3 separate regions of the Homo sapiens genome follow, and all the other regions are linked to region 2. The links are contacts of gene promoters, found by promoter capture Hi-C in blood cells and fetal thymus (Javierre and others, 2016). All regions are on one chromosome and are shown on one strand. Each heading gives the region's core, a stretch centred on a gene start or on the middle of the fragment in contact. The rest is flanking DNA. Distances are from core to core; before and after follow the strand shown.

Region 1 (3,554 bases), core at 894-3,393, about 22 Mb after region 2:
TCAAAAGGCCCCAGAATCTTCCCAACCTTTCATTCTCCCGGCCCCAATAAATCAATATCGAAAGTTTGGCCTCAGCGTTTTCCAAGTCTCCCCAGTTTCGATTGTTCTGCCTTCTTTTTATTTACGGTAGAAGAAATGTTTAATTTATTTACACCTGCCTAAGGAAGGAGGCCTTGATTTGCCCTTTCTGCCCACCGAGAAAAAAAAATAATACCTTTGTGACGCCCCCACAAAAAAGGAGGAGGGTAAGTGTTTGTGTGTATTTGTCGGGGAGACAAGAGCTAAGCAAACAGAAGGATCAGCTAAAGTCAATATCGTTACCTGTGGTATTGAGCCTGTAAAAACTGAAACTCTTCCTTAATCCGATCACAGGATTCGGAAATTGTAAATTTAAAGGGTTGAGCAGGCTGATGCGGTGCCTGAAGAACAACAATAAAATATTTAATTAGCCCACATCACAGGCGAAGCAGGGAGACGGAGAAAACCTACTATGCGGCGTTAGCGGGGGGTGAGGGTCATCGCGCACGCAAGCAAAGAGAGATTAAAACTCTCCTCCCGCAACCCTCCTCGCGCCCAACAGCCCAGGCAGAGGCTGGTTTCGAGGTGGTCCTGGGGCCCCGCATACTCCCGCCCGCAGGCCCCCGCGCCCCGGACCCCGAGGGTTCGAGTCCCGTCTCCCCTCCCCGGCCAAAGACAGGCACCCAGGGACCCGCGCGCCGCGCCCACTCCCTCCTCACCCGGAATCGAAACTGGCCCGTCGGGGGGACCCGCGCCATGGCGTCGGGCTGCGGTCAGGCCGGGGGAGGAGGGAGGCGGCCGCCACCCTCTCGGCTCGTTCGTTCGCCCGCTCGCCCCGGCGGCCCGCGGCGCGAGGGGCCGGCGCCCCGCACTTCCAAACCGCAGCCAGCCCAGCAGCGCCGCTGCCGAGGGCGCCCTCCCCGCCCGGGCGCGGAGTCGCGCCTCCTTCATCGCTCGCCACCCCCCCTCGAGGAGTCGCGGCGCGGGGACCGCAAACGGCTCGGCGCGGCTTCCAGGGGCTTCAAAGACAACAATAAGAAAATGGCTACAACTCAATTGCCTCTCCGCACCCCCTCCGAGGGCCACCGCGCCGGGGGGTGGGGGTGATGGCGGGCGGGCTGCTCCCGGCGCGGGGCGCCGATTTCGGGCGGCTCTCCACGCCCCTCCGGCCAAAAGACACAACTCGGTGCGCAGGGGGCGACGCGGGGAATCCCCCAGCACCCGGCGAGCCCGCGCCCCGCCGCCCGCACTCACTGGGTGTCTGGTCTGCGGGTACATCTTGCTCAGGTCGCGAATCATCCAAGCCGATTTAGTTGGCTGCGCTCGGCAGAGGCGCGCGGCTCATTGGCTTTAATGACCCCGAAGAGGAGGCGGCCGCGGCAGCGGAGGCGGCCGGCTCGGTCTGAGGGGCGGCTCGGGCGGTCCCGGCCCCCGCCGGGTCTCGCGTGACACGGGCGGCAGGAACGCGCGGCGGCGGCTGGGTGCCGGCTGCCGGGCCGCTCCGCATTCCCCGCGGGCGTCACTGGCCCGCCGCGGGCATTGTCCGGCGCGCGTCTCCCAAGGCAACGCTCCGACGTTCGCTCCGCCGAGGCGCACCCGCCGAGCCCGGCGCCGCGGCCGCCGCTCACCCGGCCGGGAAAGTGCGGGCTCCGCGCCCCACCGCCCGCCGGCAGCTCCTCTCGCTCGCTCTGCGTCCCACTCCAAACTTTTTTTATTTGTCTTTTAATTGGTTGTTATTCCTCCGAATGAATGATCTTTCTTCTTCCCTAAAAGCAAACACAAACTCCTTTGGTTCGGAAGAGGTCTCGGCGGTGCTTTTTGGTTTCTCTGGAGATTTTTTTCACTTCACAGCAACGATCTTTTAAAAGGCACCTTTTAGCTTCTTTTACCACATCTCATTTCCTTATTTCTCTTCCTTCCTGTTTTCTTGTCTTTTTTTTAACCCCAAATTGAAGGGGATTATAAAAATAAAAGAGTGAAACGCTTGCGGCTTTTTTTTTTAATTCTCTCTCCTTTCAAACTCTGCGAACACCACCTCAAAATAATATACAAGTGTGTGAGAAAGGGGGAAGAAAGCAGCCAACAACCCAAACACCCGCTCAGCACAGCTCTAACAACACGCTCTGTGTAGGTGACTTCTTTGACCAAATTTAGCAGCAGCTAATCATTAACATTCTGATACATATTCACAATCTTCCGCGGGGCGGCCGCGCAGCATCCCGGGAGATGTAGTCCGCCCCGGGCGACCCTGCCTGAGAATACGGCCAGATTGACTACAATCACCGGCCCGCCATGCGAGCGCTCTGGCGAGCTCTCCAAGCGCCCCGCCCACCCCCGTTGCGGTAGGCGTCTCCACCAACCAATCAGAGGTGGCTGAACATTAATCGCCGTTCTGTGTTAGTGCCCATCATTTCACTGCTGACAAATGGCAAGCCAGCGGGGAGGAGCCAACCCAGCTGAAACCCACGTGGGGGCCGGGCGTCGCCTGTAGCTCCGACCAATTAACGAAGAGGAATGAGGTTGGCGGAGGCGGGGCGGAGATGGCCCGCCCAAGGCGGAGCTTCGCCTTGGCTGACGTTCCTTAGCGCGAGCGTTCGAACCGGGAAAACATTTGTTCAGCTGTCAATCAAAGTAACGTGGGGCTGGGAGAATCGGCGGCTGCTGCTGTTGCTGCTGCCCTGGCTGCATCTTCAGAATTAGGTGTTGGTGGTGGTGGTGGTGGTGGCGGCAAAATAAAGAGGGTGGAGGGAGCGGTGAGCCTGGGGGCTGGTCAAAAGATCTTCTTCCGAGTCTCGTCCTCCCGCCCACCCGTCTCCCAACCCAGACACCTTCGGCCCCTCGCTCCGCAGCCGCGCCAGGAATGCGGACTAATTAGGGTCCAATGTCTCCTTAAAGAGACAAGCTCGGCCTTGTGTAACGCGCCGAAACCCCTGTTGAGACAAGAGGGGGAGGATCACGCTGATCTTACTTCGTTCGGTTCACATCAATTTTACGCGCCGCTGGAGCCGGCATAATTTTCCGTGTGAACGCGACTCGGTCCCCGTTCTTGTTTAGAGCCAGAAATGGAGTCGCGAGATGCTGGCTGGGGCCGGGGCCGCGGGGTGGGCGGGGAGCTCGTCCCTCCAAGCCCCGCGGGGGCTGTGATTGCCATTTAGTTCCGAAACAGGCCTCCCTCCCTCCACCCCCGGAGGCACTCGGAGAGAAAGCGCATCCCGACGCTCCATCGGGGGTCGCGGGGGGCAGTAACCGTGGGGGCTCCGGGTGGGGCTGAAGATCCGGGAATCAGAGACGCTGGACCTCCAAAGAAACTTTGCCGACTGGGCCACGTGAACCCCGAACACGGTCGGTACTGAACAGAGCAGGCCGACGGGGCACGGGTAGAAAACGCCCCTGCGCGCCCTGGGACGTTCCCTCCCCCAGATCAGTACCAAGACTGCGCCTCTTTTTCCCGCTCTTTGGAGAAGCAAGTCAAGTTTATCCCCGTTAAAAACAGAGCAGGGTGCCACGCGGGCCCGAGAGATGGCGGAAAGGTGGGG
Region 2 (3,874 bases), core at 609-3,108:
AACTGACTACCACATCATTTTACCTACTTTCAGCCTGTTTTATTTCCCTCTTCTTTTCAAATAGCTTCCCCATACTCCAGAAAGCTTCCATGAATTTTTAGTTTCAAGTTGCAACTGACAGAAGACAAGCACACTTTCATGGCACTGTTTCCTCATACCGTTGAAGAGACACCTCCTAGCTTAATTGTTTCCACTGTGGTCCCTGAATCTTCAACAGCTGCCTTCTTCTCAGGAGGCATGGAGGTGCCAGGTTCTCCAGCTGCTCTTTTATTTCCAATTCCTGACATTTTGGCAGAAGAAGACAGTCGTTTTCCTGATAGAAAAAAAGGCAGAAACTGACATAATATATGTAAGCAAAGCAACAATAGAGTAAAACAATAGAGTAAAAACTAGCAACTTTTCTGGCCAACCCTTTAACCTGGATCCATTAATTCCACAACCATCTCCATATTTCTCTTTGAGGAAAAAAAAAAAAAATTAAATTGTAGAGTAAAAGTCAAGGCGGGCCGGGCGCGGTGGCTCATGTCTGTAATCCCAGCACTTTGGGAGGCCGAGGCGGGCGGATCAAGAGGTCAGAAGATCGAGACCATCCTGCCTAACACGGTGAAACCCCGTCTCTACTAAAAATACAAAAAATTAGCCAGGCGTGGTGGCGGGCGCCGGTAGTCCCAGCTACTCGGGAGGCTAAGGCAGGAGAATCACTTGAACCCGGGAGGCGGAGCTTGCAGTGAGCCGAGATCGCACCACAGCACTCCAGCCTGGGCAACAGAGCGGGACTCCGTCTCAAAAAAAAAAAAAAAAGAAAGTCAAGGCTAAATTTACATGACTATAAATTTCTAAATAGGATGGTGATAAGAATGGTGATAAGAAATGAGACAATGGGCAAAGGGTGAAGAGACCAAAAATAAAGTTCTGGAATCTCTCTTCCTGTAATGCCAAAATCAGAAAAGGGCAGTTTGATTATGCCAGAAGTTAATACTACAGTGTTGAAAGAATCACAGAGCTGAAAGAGATCTGTGAAATGCCTACTAAAGTCATTAGTACTAGACAAGTCAGTTATCATCTCTAAGCCTCAGTTTCCTAACCCAGGAATAAATAACCACAGTATATACTTCCTATGCTTATTATAAAATAAAATGGATGATATAATTATAGAAAGAATTTGGCACAAAGCCGAACACAAAGTAAGCACTCAGAAACCCCAGCTCTTCTTTAACGTTTGCAGTGTTTTCCCTATTTCCAAACGCTCTCTCCACTGTTTTATGCAACCCTACGTTAGTTAGACCTGGGTGCGAATTTCAGTTCTGCCTGTTAGAGGCCGTGTTGCTTTGAAACAGTGAATTCGCCAAGAGCTTCAGTTTCCTCAACTGCACAATATTAACGAATATATTTTTCGTCTGCCCTGCCTACCTCCCAGGGTGCTCAAAGGAGGCGGAATGGATGCTAAAGCACTTTGGCTACTTCAGGAAACAACGCAGCCATCACCGAGACTAACAAGACTACTCTGCTTCCAATTCAAGCTCCAGGAGAGGACTATCGCTGGCAACAACCTCAGTAGGACCTCGCCTGGAGAGAGAAGACACAGAAGCAGAACAAGGCTGCAATCCAACTCGCTAAAAGCCAAAGACCTCAGCCTCAGCGTGGATAATTGCAGGCCCAGGAGACTGACGGCCCCAAAACTGGAGAGGGTGGAGACTCCTGAGGCCTGGCACAGTCCTGTTGGGCCCTAAGCGTGATCTAACCTAAGTTCTTTGAACTGGCGCCGCGCGGGAACAGAACTCGCAGCAGTTACTCACCAAGGCCCGTGCAGAGATTCCAGCTCTCACCCCTGACCCGCGGCGGAGACAAGGCAGAACTTCCGGGAGGCGGGGCCACGGAGAGGAAAAAGGGAAAGAAAAAAGGAAGTGGCTTCAACCCAGCCCATAGGACTATGAGACCCCGCCGGGCGGAAGTGACGTACGGAGAGGGCACGAGAAGCTTGAGCAAGCGCCGCCTCCCTAGCAACGCTGGGCAAGCGCGGGACCCTCTCCTGGCTACGACCTCTAAGAGTACTCGGGCCTCGCTGATGCCTGACGGAGAGCCCTTGGCTTTTGTTGACTTGTTGACCTTTGCTACTGCGATCTGGTCTTTCTGCGGGGATAAAGTTCCTCATTCTGTTGCTTGTCATTGGGGTTGCCATCACTCGTTCAGACGGCCGATTGGCTGACGGTCCCGTCAATCTCCGGGGACATGACTAGCCTCAGACACCTCAGAAAATTGTTCGTTGGTACCCCTACGTGCTGAAATGAAGAGTTCTGGAGAGAATCTGAGGGATTTGAGGAATTTCAGATGTTGGGGATTTTTTCCCCCGCACAGGGAGCGGTATTCTGCCCTGTCTACACATTAGAATCACTTGGCCTGGACAAAAGCTTTTTTAAAAAAGCGTTCCCCTCATCTCCTCCCCCCAAACCCCGCATTTCCATCCACTAGATTCTAATGCGTAAGCAGGAGTGACAACTACTGCCCTTGTGCTTTTTTGGGAACAAGAAATTGTCCAGGGAAAAGATAAACGCCAATCAGTCTCTGATCTCAGTACTAGTCTATTTTAAGCTAATTAAGCATTGATTTTTTTTTTTAAGTTTATGACAAACTGCTATTTTCCATTCAGTTAAACTAAATGCGTTTTAATGATAGGACGGTAATTAATCTAACCTATTAATGAAAAGCTGTATGTCTCGCAGAACTATGATAAACTACCTAATGACGTCAGCTAAGGGTCTAGAAATGGAAGAATGATCGCTATATCTTTTTTAAAAAATAGAATTTAGGCATCTTGGGAAAAAAAGAAGCTAATCTACACTGGATTTCTGTTAGTGTGAAGACTTTTGTCCCTGTACCTGCTAGGGCTTACCTGTAAATGAAGTAAGATGGTCAACACCAGGGAAACAAGTGTTCCTGGTGCCTGGCAGTGGAACACCTTGACTATCTTGGAAAGAATTAACTGGCCCCAAGTGGACTTCACATTTCATTCCGTGAAGTGGGAGCCTGAGAACATGTGAGTGGGGACACACCTGCCGAAAAGCATTGTATGAGACAATGACACTCATTCTCTCATCTTCTTTGGTTCCTCTACTCTTAGCAAGCCTTTCATTCATAGAACTACTGAATGGCAAGTAATGGTTTTTCTAGCCCAGAAAACTAGAGGTTCACAGACTGCATTTAGCCAACAGTTATGCTTTGTTTATTTTAGACAGTATTGGCTGTCCTGCGTGGTTAAAAACAAGAACAAAAATGAACTTAGTTGCCAACATTTAAAATATGGCTATTTTACATAAAAATCCAAATTATCAGTTTCTCTAAAAAATGTTGATGATCTTGCAACAGAAGGGTTATATTTTTGCATGGTCACATTGCTTAGAGCAAAGTAGTGGCTTCTTCTTTTTTTTTTTTTTTCTTTTTTTCGAGACAGAGTCTTACTCTGTCACCCAGGCTGGAGTGCAGTGGCACAATCTCGGCTCACTGCAAACTCCACCTCACAGGTTCAAGCAATTCCCATGCCTCAGCCTCCCAAGTGGGTGGGATCACAGGCACACGCCACCACACCTGGCTAATTTTTGTATTTTTAGTAGAGATGGGGTTTCGCCATGTTGGCTAGGCCGGTCTCAAACTCCTGACCTCGGACGATCCATCCACCTCAGCCTCCCAAAGTGCTGAGATTACAGGCCTGAGCCACAGCTACTGGCAATGAGCCACCACGCTTGGCGTGGCTCTCTTTTATTAATAGATCATGTTATTCTTGTTTACCATAATCCCCACTAATCTTTACTGGTTCCTTAGCACTAGTATAGTTTAATTTGAGTATCATCACTTGTGTGTTACATTGTGATAAATCAAT
Region 3 (3,878 bases), core at 297-2,796, about 27 Mb after region 2:
TTCCCAAAAGTGCTGGGATTAAAGACGTGAGCCACCGCACCCGGCCGGTTACCAATTTCAAACAAGAAAAGTAAAAACCAAACAGAAAAGCTATTGCTTACTACCCTAACTTGGTACATTTCTGTGCTTGTTAATAACTAATAATTAACTTGTCCTCTCACAACCACCTTGAGATGCAGGGGTACAGGGTAAATTAGTACTGAGATAGTACCTAGCACTAAAATAGAATTATCTTTCTTGCACACTTTTTCTACAGAGGATGATAGTTTTTCCCTTCAAAGCACTGGTAATAGTCTTATTTTCTTCCTTCCATTTCTGCTTACTTGGTTACTGTCTTTATCAAACTATTAAAATAGTAAATACGACCAGATGCGGTGGCTCACACCTATAAACCAAGCACTTTGGGAGGCCCAGACAGGAGATCGCTTGAGCTCAGTGGGGCCCGGCTGCAGTGAGCCGTGATGGCACCACTGCACTCCCGCCTAGGTGGCCGAGAGAGACCCTGTCTCAAACAAAATAAAAAATAAAAATAATAAAATAGTAAATATACTGCAATTGTCTCCACCTCACTTCACCTGACAACACTATTTTGCTGTAATGGCCATAGAATCTTGATCTGACCACCGCCCATAGTAAGCAGGGAACTCAGCCTTCCAACATTAATTAAGAGCCCAACAATTTTAGGTTTCAGTTAGAAAGGACAGCTGCGCTTCAGGCTTGGTTCTTGCCAACTACTCAGCTATTTTGGATGAGCTGCACATTTTGTCTGTAACTTCCTCCATAAGTTTTTAATCAAGAGATCTTCCAGGAATGTAGGGCCTGCTTCACCTTCCACAGCAGCTGCGCAAAACATGCAAAACATACACTTCGATTTGTGTTTTCTGTTAGCTTTAGCTACTTCCCTCAGCCCAGACTCCCTTCAGTCTTTTGTTTTGAATAACAACCTACTGTGAAGCTTCTTAAACACTAGTTTTATTTAAAGCTTGTATTATCCTTTTCCTTTTTTTTTTTTTTTTTTTTGAGACGGCATCTCGCTCTGTTGCCCAGGCTGCAGTGTAGTGGTGCGATCTCTGGCTCACTACAGCCTCCACCTCCCAGGCTCAAGTGAATCTTCCTCCTCAGCCTCCCGAGTAGCTGGGACCACAGGGGCAGGCCAACAAGCCTGGCCTATTTTTGATTTTTTGTAGAGACGAGGTCTTGCTATGTTGCCCAGGATAGTCTGGAACTCTATTATAATCTTTGTCTTAATCTCATGGAGACGCCCCCGTGGTCACTGACTGGAGGAAGGAAATACACATTTTAAAGGTTTTAAATTTCCTATAGAAGGGTCTAGAACGTACCGCGCTATAACGAACATAGTAGTAAGACCACCGCCACACTCCTGAGGAAACAAGGTCACGCCCCTCTGCGGGCCGCTTGATCGGGTCTTTAATTAATCCCGCCGCGGCCTTCCCGCCTACCCCCGAGCGCGCACTTCCGGTCGCGAGGGCGCTCGGGAGCGCGCCCCGCGAGCCTCCACCAACCAGCGGCTCCGCCTGGCCAGACAGAGTGCGCGCGCGCACGTTGTGCGCAGGTTCGAATCTCCGCCGCTTCGCGGTTGCTTCTCAACGTCCGGGCCGCATCTCGGCGGCGGCGAGGGCTGAGCGCGGGAGCTGCCTCCGAGCCGGAGCCCCAGCCCTAGGCCCTGCGCGAGCTGCCCCGCCCTACCCCCTCCAGCGTCCTGTCGCCTCCTCGCCCGACTTCGGCCTGTCCCTCTCTCACGCGCTCAGTCCTCGCTCTTCGCCCCCCGCAGCTATCGGCACTCGGTCTCCCGCGCCTGGCGGGCTCCGCCCGAGCCTCTGGGCCCATGGCCAAGCGGCGTGCGGCCGAGCCGGTGACGTTCCACGTGCCTTGGAAGCGGCTCCTGCTTTGCGACTTCGCTGAGCAGCCGCCGCCACCGCCTCTCTGGATCCGGCCGCCCGGGGTCGCGCATGCTGGGCAGCTCCTCGGCGTCCCAGAGCAGCACCGAAAGCGCAAAATCGACGCAGGGACCATGGCAGAGCCCTCGGCTTCGCCCAGCAAGCGCCGTGACAGCGGGGACAACAGCGCCCCGAGCGGCCAGGAGCGTGAGGACCACGGTCTGGAGACAGGCGATCCGCCGCTGCCGCCGCCGCCCGTACTGCCGGGGCCGGGGGAGGAGCTCCCGGGCGCCCGGCTCCCGGGGGGCGGTGGCGACGACGGGGCGGGGCGCGCAGGACCCCCGCGGGGAGACTGGGGGGTCGCATCGCGCCAGGTAGGGGCTGGGGGCGGGTGGGCTGAGGGGCGAAGGGGCTTGCCTTTTCCCCACACACACAAAACGCCCCGGTTCCCACTCATGACTTGTGTAGGTTAAGACGCCTGAGGGGGTTGAAAGAAGGGGTCACCGCTCCGGGAGAGGACGCCGACCGCCAGAAGCACACCCCGAGAGTCCGATGGGCAGAAAGCACTGGGCTGGGCGAGGGGGAAACAGACCGTGGTCGGGAGCGATAGAAGTGGCCTTGCGGCGTCAGCGCCGCGCTCCGTAAAAGGGAAACGGGACCGTGGGTCGTGGCGGGCTGTGAGCATGGCGAGAACGCAGACCGTCAGGGCATAGGTTCAGCCCAAAGACAAACGACAGATAAAGGTGTAGAGGGCCTTCCTGGGTTTAACGATGATTAGTCTAGAATTCGGGATAGAGTTCTTTTTCTAGAGGGAGACCAGTGTGGTAGCCATTGATTAATTGAACGTCCTACCGGCTGGTACAGCTTCTGGAGAAAAGGATGGACCACCGTACCTTGGTCAAAGCTTTGTTTTAACTCATAGTGTTAAATCTGATCCTAGGCAAAAGTATCATTGAAAATTAATTTGGGGGCGGGGCGTGGTGTCTCACGCCTGGAATCCCAGGACTTTGGGAGGCCACGGCGGGTGGATCACCTGAGGTCGGGAGTTCGAGACCAGCCTGGCCAATAGGGTGAAACTCTGTCTCTATTAAAACACAAAAACTAGCTGGGTGTGGTGGTGTATGCCCGTAATCACAGCTACTCGGGAGGCTGAGGCACAAGAATCACTTTAACCTGGGAGATGGCGGTTGCAGTGAGCTGAGATTGGGCCAGTGCACTCCAGCCTGGGCCACAGAGTGAGACGCTGTCTCAAAAAAAAAGAAAAGAAAAGAAAGAAAAAAGAAAATTAATTTGGGCCTTAAGGCGTATATGAGAATCATTGGCGGGTTTTTATTCAAGACATGAGCCTGCCTCATCTCTGCATGTAAGAATCCTGAGAAGATCTAGGTATGCCTCGGTTTGCCTAGATCTCTGCTGCCCGGCCGCTAGCCGGTAAGAACACTTGAAACGTGACTAGTCCAAATGGAAATGTGCTCTAAGTTTAAAATATACACGAAATTTCGTGGATTTAATAAATGAAGATAAAATAGCTCAATTTTATATTGATTACACATGAAATAACTTGGCTATATTGAAGAAAATATATTAAAATTAATACCAGAAGTTTCTTTTACTTTTTAAATACAGCTACTAGAAAATTTTAAATTATGTTTTTGGAGCATTATATATTTATTGGACAGCTTTGGTCTAGACTTAGGAATTCATACTACTTTTTCACAATCCTGAATGGCAGGGGACTTGGGAGATGAAGAACCAAGTACAGGTTTCTCAGAATTCACCAAATTCTCTTCAGCTGTCTGATAGCATCCTCCCAACGTTTTTCTATTTTCTCAAGTATCTTATGTCAGGGTTTTCAAATACCTTTCCAAAAAAATAAATGAAATTTCTTAGGCATGACTTGTTCATGTGAAAAATCCAATAAAATAACGAGAGTTTTATAGTTGGGAAAGACTTTTTTTTTTTTTTTCCTATGGTTGAAAC

The links. The method cuts DNA at HindIII sites, captures the fragments that hold promoters and counts their contacts. A CHiCAGO score of 5 or more calls a contact.
Region 1: a contact is called between the fragment with the promoter of TLE4 here and the fragment with the promoter of RNF20 in region 2, in 2 of 17 cell types (non-activated CD4 T cells and activated CD4 T cells). The highest score is 7.3, in non-activated CD4 T cells.
Region 3: a contact is called between the fragment with the promoter of C9orf40 here and the fragment with the promoter of RNF20 in region 2, in 2 of 17 cell types (fetal thymus and total B cells). The highest score is 14.5, in fetal thymus.

The regions. Positions count from the first base shown.
Region 1 is chr9:79,570,554-79,574,107 of GRCh38, reverse strand. TLE4 (TLE family member 4, transcriptional corepressor) reads right to left here and starts at 2,143. Exons shown (of 20, transcript NM_007005.6): 1 at 1,273-2,143; 2 at 322-419. The coding sequence starts at 1,317. RefSeq lists silencers at 532-771, 792-1,261, 1,372-1,531, 1,592-1,711 and enhancers at 602-1,214, 1,942-2,031, 2,072-2,121, 2,132-2,261. The HindIII fragment of the contact is 12,449 bases long and covers 1-3,554 here.
Region 2 is chr9:101,531,837-101,535,710 of GRCh38, reverse strand. RNF20 (ring finger protein 20) reads right to left here and starts at 1,858. Exons shown (of 20, transcript NM_019592.7): 1 at 1,797-1,858; 2 at 159-313. The coding sequence starts at 287. It also overlaps a transcript of PGAP4 not described here. RefSeq lists an enhancer at 1,987-2,116. The HindIII fragment of the contact is 1,893 bases long and covers 87-1,979 here.
Region 3 is chr9:74,950,580-74,954,457 of GRCh38, reverse strand. C9orf40 (chromosome 9 open reading frame 40) reads left to right here and starts at 1,546. Exons shown (of 2, transcript NM_017998.3): 1 at 1,546-2,272. The coding sequence starts at 1,847. CARNMT1-AS1 (CARNMT1 antisense RNA 1) reads right to left here and starts at 1,493. Exons shown (of 5, transcript NR_121183.1): 1 at 1,341-1,493. RefSeq lists silencers at 1,565-1,774, 2,045-2,254 and an enhancer at 2,585-2,654. The HindIII fragment of the contact is 1,820 bases long and covers 985-2,804 here.